Linked DNA regions of Homo sapiens: region 2 is linked to region 1. The links are contacts of gene promoters, found by promoter capture Hi-C in blood cells and fetal thymus (Javierre and others, 2016). All regions are on one chromosome and are shown on one strand. Each heading gives the region's core, a stretch centred on a gene start or on the middle of the fragment in contact. The rest is flanking DNA. Distances are from core to core; before and after follow the strand shown. Region 1 holds the start of GNRH1 (gonadotropin releasing hormone 1). Region 2 overlaps DOCK5 (dedicator of cytokinesis 5).

What was found. Contacts are between HindIII fragments. The CHiCAGO score rates a contact against its expected background, and 5 or more counts as called.
Region 2: a fragment that was not itself captured here is called in contact with the fragment with the promoter of GNRH1 in region 1 in 2 of 17 cell types (neutrophils and M2 macrophages); the score reaches 8.3 in neutrophils.

The regions. Positions count from the first base shown.
Region 1 is chr8:25,421,456-25,426,010 of GRCh38, reverse strand. GNRH1 (gonadotropin releasing hormone 1) reads left to right here and starts at 1,750. Exons shown (of 4, transcript NM_001083111.2): 1 at 1,750-1,810; 2 at 2,680-2,821; 3 at 4,343-4,438. The coding sequence starts at 2,681. The HindIII fragment of the contact is 12,746 bases long and covers 625-4,555 here.
Region 2 is chr8:25,322,217-25,326,738 of GRCh38, reverse strand. DOCK5 (dedicator of cytokinesis 5) reads right to left here. Exons shown (of 52, transcript NM_024940.8): 17 at 2,788-2,891; 18 at 1,192-1,375. Among named protein-coding and RNA genes, the nearest start is that of MIR6876, 21 kb to the left of the region's middle. The HindIII fragment of the contact is 3,892 bases long and covers 1,162-4,522 here.

The DNA.
Region 1 (4,555 bases), core at 501-3,000:
CTTAAGCAATACTTAGAGGCACATCTCTCAGCAAACACAAACCAATTGGACAATTTAAACTAGCACTATTCAACCATAATGAACTCTGGTTGAAAAACAGTCTGTCCCTACTTGCATATTGTAGTGAGATGAGATTCCACTCTTCATGTCAGAATGGCACTTACATGAGTCAAAGTGTCTAAATGAAATAATTTAAATGGAACAAAGTCAAATACTTACATTTTATTTTTAAATTCTCCTCTATTTGCAGTTATACTTTAAAGTGTACTCCCTTCTCTATCCTATCATGAGGACTGGACAGCCTCCACAGAGATGGCTGGACAAAGCAAGGGAATTTACTTAGGTAAGACACCATTTCTCTTTACTCTGAAATCCCTGCAAATGTAGTTATTCCAGAGGAGACTGTGCAATGACTGATGGGTTTAGCATCCTACATGAGGGGAAATTGCCATTCCCAGCTGTAAAATGAACAAATATCCAGTTATTTTTTTTAGCCATCTTACAGCTTAGCTAATATAACAGGATTTACAGCCAATTATACATGAAAGTTTAATTCTGTGTCAGATAAAGCATATCTTTGATGCAGAAATAGAGGCAGCATTAGGCCTTACCTGGTTAAAAGCTTTTTGCTTTCTATTCATTCATTCGTTCATTCATTCATTCAAACCTATACTTACTGAATGCTCACTAAATGCCGGGGGTTTATTAAGAGAGATTTAAATAAGATGGGATCTTTGACTATTACAGGTTTCAGCCTAGGGGTAAATTAGGGGAAGACAACCATGTATTCAAATAAATGTAATTAAGAGTAATGGTTGTGTGTGTATTTTACATGCTTGTCCTGTGTAAATAACACGTCCACGGTTGCACCTCTGGGGTGGAACATCTATAAAATTTAGATAATGATACCCACTTTGCATGGCTATTGTAATGAATGCTCTTATACATTTGCTATTTATTAAATAACTATAATTTCTCATCTTTCTGTTCCCACTGCCCTTAAGAGTGATTTGCATATTTAACTCAATAAGCATCTACTGAAATGAGTTGATCTGTTGATGTAAGTCTGCTCAATATGGTCTTGCTCTCAGAATATGTTTCTTGCCTTTTTGATGCTTTAGAAGGCTTTCAAGGTAAGTCAAGCAGGGAACCTGGTGGGTAGATGAGGGAATTTTCAAACACACAACTGTCTGATTTAGGATCCTACATGGACTTGGTATATAGTGTCACTTACTTGTAAATCAGATTTTTAAAATTGGAAGCAACTCTGTGATCATCTAGTCCATCTAGTCTACACCCTTCCTTTTACAAATGAAGAATCCAAGAGCCAGAAGCTCCCAGACATCCTGACTCAATGTCCTATATTTGTTGTATAGCCTCCTTTGTGGAAGTTATGTATGCATTTGACTTCACTTAATCTAAGACATCTATTTTCCTTGAACTCTTGATAGGTCTGCTGGTTTCCTCAAGGGAATCCAATCTAGCTGGATTTTAATCTCTTTGAATTGTGTCCTCAGCTATAAAAGTTTTAGCTGAGGTTTTAATGGCTGCACTTAAGTAAATCTAACAGATATACCAGGGGGTGTTCCAATTACATACACCATTAAAGGGCTTTATGTGAGGATTTTTAAAAATTACCATTAAAAAAAAAAAAGCATAGTCCATTTGCAGTATAATTTACCAGCAGGAAAGATTTCAATGTCCTGGAAAAATTCCCTATAAAAAGGAAGATAGGAAAACAGAAAAGTCACAGTACTCAACCTACTTCAAGGGAAGATTGGGATCTTTTTGGCTCTCTGCCTCTAAACAGGTAAAAGGCTTTGTATTATTTCTAGCACGAGTTTTTCTTCTTTAGATTGCATGCTATTGTATGTCTACAGGGCATTTGACAGCCCAAGGGCTAAATCCAGGTGTGACGGTATCTAATGATGTCCTGTCCTTCACTGTCCTTGCCATCACCAGCCACAGAGATCCAGGCTTTGGGGACTCCCACAGCTTATCGACCAGTGTTTGATTTAGTTTTTAGCCTCTTTCCCATCAAATGAAAATTAACTTGGAGACACATTTCATTAGAAAATTAGAGGCCCCCTTGGCTAGGAAGGCATCTGGTCTGGGACTAACTACTTTGAACAGTGTTGAGTCCTCTCTCCCACAGATGGTTCAGCCAGCAGTAATGCTAGGAAGACTGAAGGATAAATAGAAAAATGTCATTAGTACCATGGGGTAGCCATGTAATGTCAAGCAATTTTATATTAGCCAGAGATTCCTAGTAGGAGCTACTTTTCTTAACAGATGACTCAGTTCTCTTTATCTCAGGAATGAAAGAGTTGAAGACCAATCCACAACAGGGGAAATGTTAAGGCAAAATGATGAACTTGATAAGGGATGAATTATGGGGTTTGGATAACCAAACAATAAAAATAAAAGTATAGACTATTTTAGTACTAAAAAGGTCCTGAACATGTGAGCTTAAGTACTCATTTTGTCCCCAGTGGCTAAGAAACTAAAGGCAAGCCAGCAAGTGTCTCTGAGTTTCAGTGTCTGTATGTAAAAACTGACTCTGACTTCCATCTTCTGCAGGGTTAGTGATACAGATGCTAGCTTTTTCACTAAAGAGGTCTTTTAGTTTATACTCAACCTTGTCTGGATCTAATTTGATTGTGCATTCATGTGCCTTAGAATGAAGCCAATTCAAAAACTCCTAGCTGGCCTTATTCTACTGACTTGGTGCGTGGAAGGCTGCTCCAGCCAGCACTGGTCCTATGGACTGCGCCCTGGAGGAAAGAGAGATGCCGAAAATTTGATTGATTCTTTCCAAGAGGTAAGTTTCTCTCAGCTTCAAAATAAGACATAGTGATTTTATTCAATTTAACTATATTAAACATTCAGGATAGCCCCAATGTCAATATTCTATGATGTTGTACCCTAGATGCTCCAGGTGAGATAAGGCACTTACAAAGTAGAAGTCCCATTCCTACTTTCAGTTCACACAGGGACTAAACAAAGAGCTGGAAAAATTCCAAAAGAATATATTAATAGCAACAAGTGTGAGACAGCACGTCATACTCTGAGTGTATGGGATTGCTAAAGGAATTAGAAACAATGGGATAGGGTCAAGGTCTGTATCAGAAGATGATTCTTTGGGATTTGGAAAAAACGTTAGAACTTCGTTTTTTTTTTCCTCATTTCATCTTTTAAACATATCTATGCTATTAGATCAGTACATTTTTATAATTTATAAATGAGTATCCTTATCAAGGATGCATGCCCTATAATTTCTTTTCACTGATAGGGGCATTTAAGCAAAGTTGGAGACTGGTAGAATACAGGAATTAGCAAACTCAAGATGATAAGATAACGTAGTAGAAAACATGCTGATTTAAATTCATATAGATTAGATTATAGGACTGGCACCAACACTAACGTGAGGTACTTGCTTTCTTGTTTTTTGGGGTTATTTTCTAAGACAGGGTCTCGCTGTGTTATCTAGGCTGGAATTTAGTGGCACGATCACAGCTCACTGCAGCCTTGACTTCTTGGGCTCAAGTGATCCTCCCACCTCAGCCGTCTGCATAGCTGGGACCACAGGCATGCACTATCACACCCAACTAATTTTTAAAACTTTTTATAGAGATGGGGTTTCCCTATGTTGCCCAGGCTGGTCTCAAACTCCTGGGCTCAAGGGATCCTCCCACCTTGGCCTCCCAAAGTGCCGGGAGGATTTTTGTTTATAAAATATGACCACTCATCAGGGTCATGTAAGGAAAGAAGCCATCTATGTTAGCTGATTAACCTGAAAAATAACCTAGGACTGAGAATGGGAAAAATTTTAAATCATTTCATTATCATTGGAAGGAATTATCTCTTTTCTGAGAAATAATAAAGATAATTTAGTATTAAAGAAGACCCAGAATCTGAAGCCTCTTCTCTGCAGGTTATACATGAAGCAAATCTCATTGAACTATAACATATTTAGTAAAACCTAGAAAATAAAAACCAACCTTTTTTTACAACTATAAACTCTTGGGGGTTTTTTGCTTTTTGTTTTTTTGGGTATACTGACTCTCATGAGGCTCAAAGTGCCTCCCTCTTTTCATCTTTAAGGGGAAAATATGATATCTTCTTACTGTCTCCATTATCTCCAGATCCCCATGCCATTCAGTAGAAATGTCAGATGGCAGATCTGTGTCCTTAAAGTCCCTATGCTAATCCTGCAACTTTCCCAATCTCCCCCAGCCCCACATCCCCCTTGACCCCACTCTCCACAATTTTTTGGTGGAAATGGAAAACACCATTTCATTTCTTTATCTCCATCTCAAAGCATCACATTCTCTTTCTTCAGATAGTCAAAGAGGTTGGTCAACTGGCAGAAACCCAACGCTTCGAATGCACCACGCACCAGCCACGTTCTCCCCTCCGAGACCTGAAAGGAGCTCTGGTAAGTTAAAGTGATCATAACATGATCACAGCATAGAGCTCTAGAGGTGGATAAGCCTTTGGGGATCACTTAGGACAGCTACCTCCCAGATACTGTGGGGCTTACATTCCTGACTCC
Region 2 (4,522 bases), core at 1,858-4,357, 100 kb after region 1:
ACTTAAGTGCAACTTCCAGGAATCAAATCACAGGCTCAAAGGGTCTGAAGACAGTTAAACTCCTTGATATGCCTTCTAAATTATCTTCCATAAATGTTGTACCCATTAACCTACCAGCAGTTCATTGTTAATGGATTCGCTTTGTCCATAACACGGGGTATGTTGCTGACGGTTTTGTCACGTCTTTTATGTTTCTGGCTTCATTTTTGGTGAGGATGCTTTTACTTGCACATACGGATTAGCCCTAAACTTCACTCTGTGGAGTCTAGCCACTTGTCCAAGTTGAAATACAATCCTTATCTTTTTGTCAACCACGACTTGTTGAAACAAACCTAACACTGAGCCCTTCTAAAGATCAGGGATCTGATCCCTGGGTTTACCCTATAACTACACTTTTTTGTCTATCTTGGCACCCCTTAAGGCAGAGCTCTTGCCTGTACCTCACTCAAACTGTCTACAAGGCCAAAGGCAACAGTCTCTACACGGCATATGGGAGACAGAATTTCTAGCGCAAGTCCCCTAGGCAGCTCATTCTTGGTTTACTACATCCAGTAGGGTTCCTTACACATTACTTAAGTTAAATAAATAAGAAGTTGATATTGGCTAGCACATGTCATAATCTACACAAGAGAGGTTAAAATTGATATCAGAGATTTGAAGGAAAAACCAAATGAATCCCTCTTTGAACTATTCAGCTGAATTTATGGAAAATCCCTGACTGCTTGGAAAAAAATGGGAAAGAAGAGAATATAGGAGGGAAGGACAGAACTCAAACAGGAAGCCCTGCCATACCTGTTTGGACAGGAAACTGATTATATTTCTTTGCCAAGCTCCTCCTCTTACTACCAACATCTCTTCCTGCACATACTACACAGAATGCACTATCAGGGAACATACGGCTTTTGAATTTTACAGTTGCTGTTAATAAATGCATTTATAGGTTTTAAGATATTAAATACTAAAATGTTTTTCATCCTGCTCTAAAGTGGACGATGAAACTTCAGAAGAGGCTGTGCAATGTGATCAGCACTACCCAGAATACCACTTGAAAAGCAGAGAGCAGAATCCAATTGGCCAACATCCTACCTAATAAGACCCAGCCCCATATAGTCCAGCCCTGTGAGCCTAACCAAGGAGCCCAGAAAGGCTGAGCAAGAAGCTTATTTGTGTCAGTGTATTCACCACTCCTACCATTCTGGGTGAGCTTTGTGGAGCAGATGAGGGTGGCAATCTGAAAGCTGTCTTTAGTGCTATCCTTGCTTGGGGTGAAGGTGACCAGGTTTTTGGATGCTTGAAGCTCTTTTTCTTCCATCTCCATCTTGGTTCCAGGCAGGGTCAGGTAGAATTTAGCATCTTCCATTTTTTTGTTGTCACCCTAAAAGGAAGCATGTTAGGAACACCAAATGATGGCCAAAATCTCTTATATGCAAATAAAAACAATTTCTATCATGCATTTTCAGCATGAGAAGCGTGGACTTATCAATTTATCCTGAAGATCCCTTCCACCTCTGAGATACTCTGATATCTTTCTGTAAACATTGAGCCCAGAAATAATTTCATGATTGAATGGAAACAGAATAAGTTGTGAACTAGAAACCAGAATATCCTAGTCTCTGTTAGAGTAAATACACATATTTCAGAATAAGGTTAAATTTCATTTTCTTCAGTCTCTAAATGGGGACAATTCCAACAATGATAGACTGGATTAAGAAAATATGGCACATATACACCATGGAATACTATGCAGCCATAAAAAAGGATGAGTTCATGTCCTTTGTAGGGACATGGATGAAGCTGGAAACCATCATTCTCAGCAAACTATCACAAGGACAAAAAACCAAACACCGCATGTTCTCACTCATAGGTGGGAATTGAACAATGAGAACACATGGACACAGGAAGGGGAACATCACACACCAGGGCCTGTTGTGGCGGGGGCGGGGAGGGGGGAGGGATAGCATTAGGAGATATACCTAATGTTAAATGGCAAGTTAATGGGTGCAGCACACCAACATGGCACATGTATACATCTGTAACAAACCTGCACGTTGTGCACATGTACCCTAAAACTTGAAGTGTAATTAAAAAATGGGGACAATTATACTTTATTGGGTTGATGGAAGAAGAATTAGCTTGCCATCCCTTCCAAAATGATTCATAAACTAAGATGTTAAGAAAAATATTCCTCAGGTAGATGCATCTCAAAAGAGCAGCCAACTGTGGGGAAATCCCCAGATATTGTTGGCTAAATGAGATCTTCCAGCATCTACTTTATACTCTAAAATCTCAGTAGAAGTGGGAGCTCAGCATCAGTTGGAAGGCAAGAACAAAGACAAAACTTTCAGGGAAGGAAATAAGGCCCCCAGAGCACAGAAATAGTATGTGGCTCATGGTGATGGGAAAACCATATCCACCACACACTACTGAAGCCCAACAGTGCACCTGTCCATGTGCCATGCAGGATGATGAAAAGAGCAGATCATGAGAGGCCGACCCCTTACCATTCACTGCTAGGGAACACCATTCACAGGACCTCTCCCGTGAGAGGTCTAAGGAGGTGAGAGCCTCCTTAGAAGACTCAGTAATAATGCAACTCACTCTCTCCAGAAAGCAGGTGGGAAACCACAAAGCTGGAGGGCCCAGAGCCCTCTGGGTTTCTAGATGTTAATGGGCAAGTACAGAAAGCTCTAGAAAGGTTTCTGATGTTTGTACAAATAAATATGAAAGGAGTCTTAAATGCTCATTTGAAAGGGAGTATTTTTCTCAGCCATTTTCTGTTAGCACCACCTTATAAACCACCAGATCGTGCCTCCCATCCTGCAGAGTGGTGCCATCCGGGTTCATCAGCTTCACGAAGGCCACCCCAAATGCTCGCTCCGATTTATCTCTGGCTGAAAAGGCAGAAAGACATGTCTGAGCAGTGCAGAGAGACACCAGGAGGCGATGGCTATGACACGATTTCACATTTTGCTCGGGGGTGCAGCGTTCAACCATATTCTAATAAGCACAACTGAGCAAACTGCAATAAGCCACGTACCATGTGCCACTGAAACTGCCTGGCACCCCCAAGTATGCTCTCCTCTTCCTACATCCCCTAATAAATGAGACTAGCATCTGCCCAGTCATCCAAATCAGAAATGTGGGTGTTGACACCAACTCCACCCCACGTCAACTCCATGTCCTAAACAGCTCTGGAGCCTGTCTCTTCTCTCTCCATCTTGCTGTCCTTCCTGACTTCAGGCCACACTCACCTCTTCTCTTTATTTCTACAAGACCTTCCCAGCGCATCTCTCTGTCTCTAGGCTCTCCCACCAAACACATTCTCTATGTTGGAATGAGGTTTCCAAAGTCCAATCCAATCATGTCAACCACGCTGCTTCAAAACACTTGAATGAGAGATCTCAATTTATGTTGCTCTAAAACAGGCTCTGCAAGATATTTATTCTACTCTAGGGTTTATGGTGCTGCCCAAAGTTTCTTTACCCTTCCTCCCCAGAATACCAGCTCCAGTGCCAGGAAAGAAGATCTGCATGCCCTGTGGCAGCTGGGAGGAGGGTGCAGCTTCATGAGGAGGCAGAGCTCCTCTCTCTTGGTCTTCGGGGCCAGTCTCTGAACTCACCGGGTCCCCTGCTTCAGTGGCTCTGAGTAGGGTAACCTGTGGCCTGTTTTTATCATAGGCACGGCTCTGTGGTCTGCTGTGCCCCTTGGGTCCCCACAGTGGTGGAGTAGTCATCCATTGTATGATCATACCTCAATTTGTTTATCCATTCTCCTATTGATGGGGATTTAGGCTATTCTAGTGTTGGAGTACTATGGGTGAAGCTGTTATGAACATAGACCAACCCCTCCCAAAACCTCAAAACCAGAAACCACCCTTGAATTGCACCTCCTTAACATGGCTGAAAAACATCTTCAGCCTTCATGATCCGGCTCCAGCCCAGCTAGAATCAGATTGTCTGGGTGCTAACCCAGCCTGGTCATATGCTAGCCTTGTGACCACAGGCAAGTGCCTAACCTCTCCATGCCTTAGTTTCTTTGTGTATAAATGTAGATAAAAGTAGAATGTACCTTGTTATATTATTGTGGATACTAAACAGGACCATGTACAAATATAGCTTCACATAATACTTCATACAAACTTGACCTTTGTTAATTGTTAATTGACAATTGTTAGTTATTATGCAGAACCATATGAAATGGCTGATATTTGGCCATTTAGACCTAAAAAATGCCAATTTCACACGATTCAACCTGATACTATTATTGCTCCACTGGTCCTGCTTTAGCCATACTGAGTTCATTTGGTTCTCCAAACACACTTCTCCCATCACCCTTCACTGGGCTAATTTCTACTCACCTTCAAGTCTCAGCTAAGATGTAGGAGGTCATATGCATAAATCCCCCAGACTGGGTAAGGTGCTGTGCTACGCTTCCATTACAAGTCTTTGCCCCTTGTAATGTACATATCATACTATTCCGTACATAACCACCCACTTTTTCGTTCATCTTCCTAACCAGACCA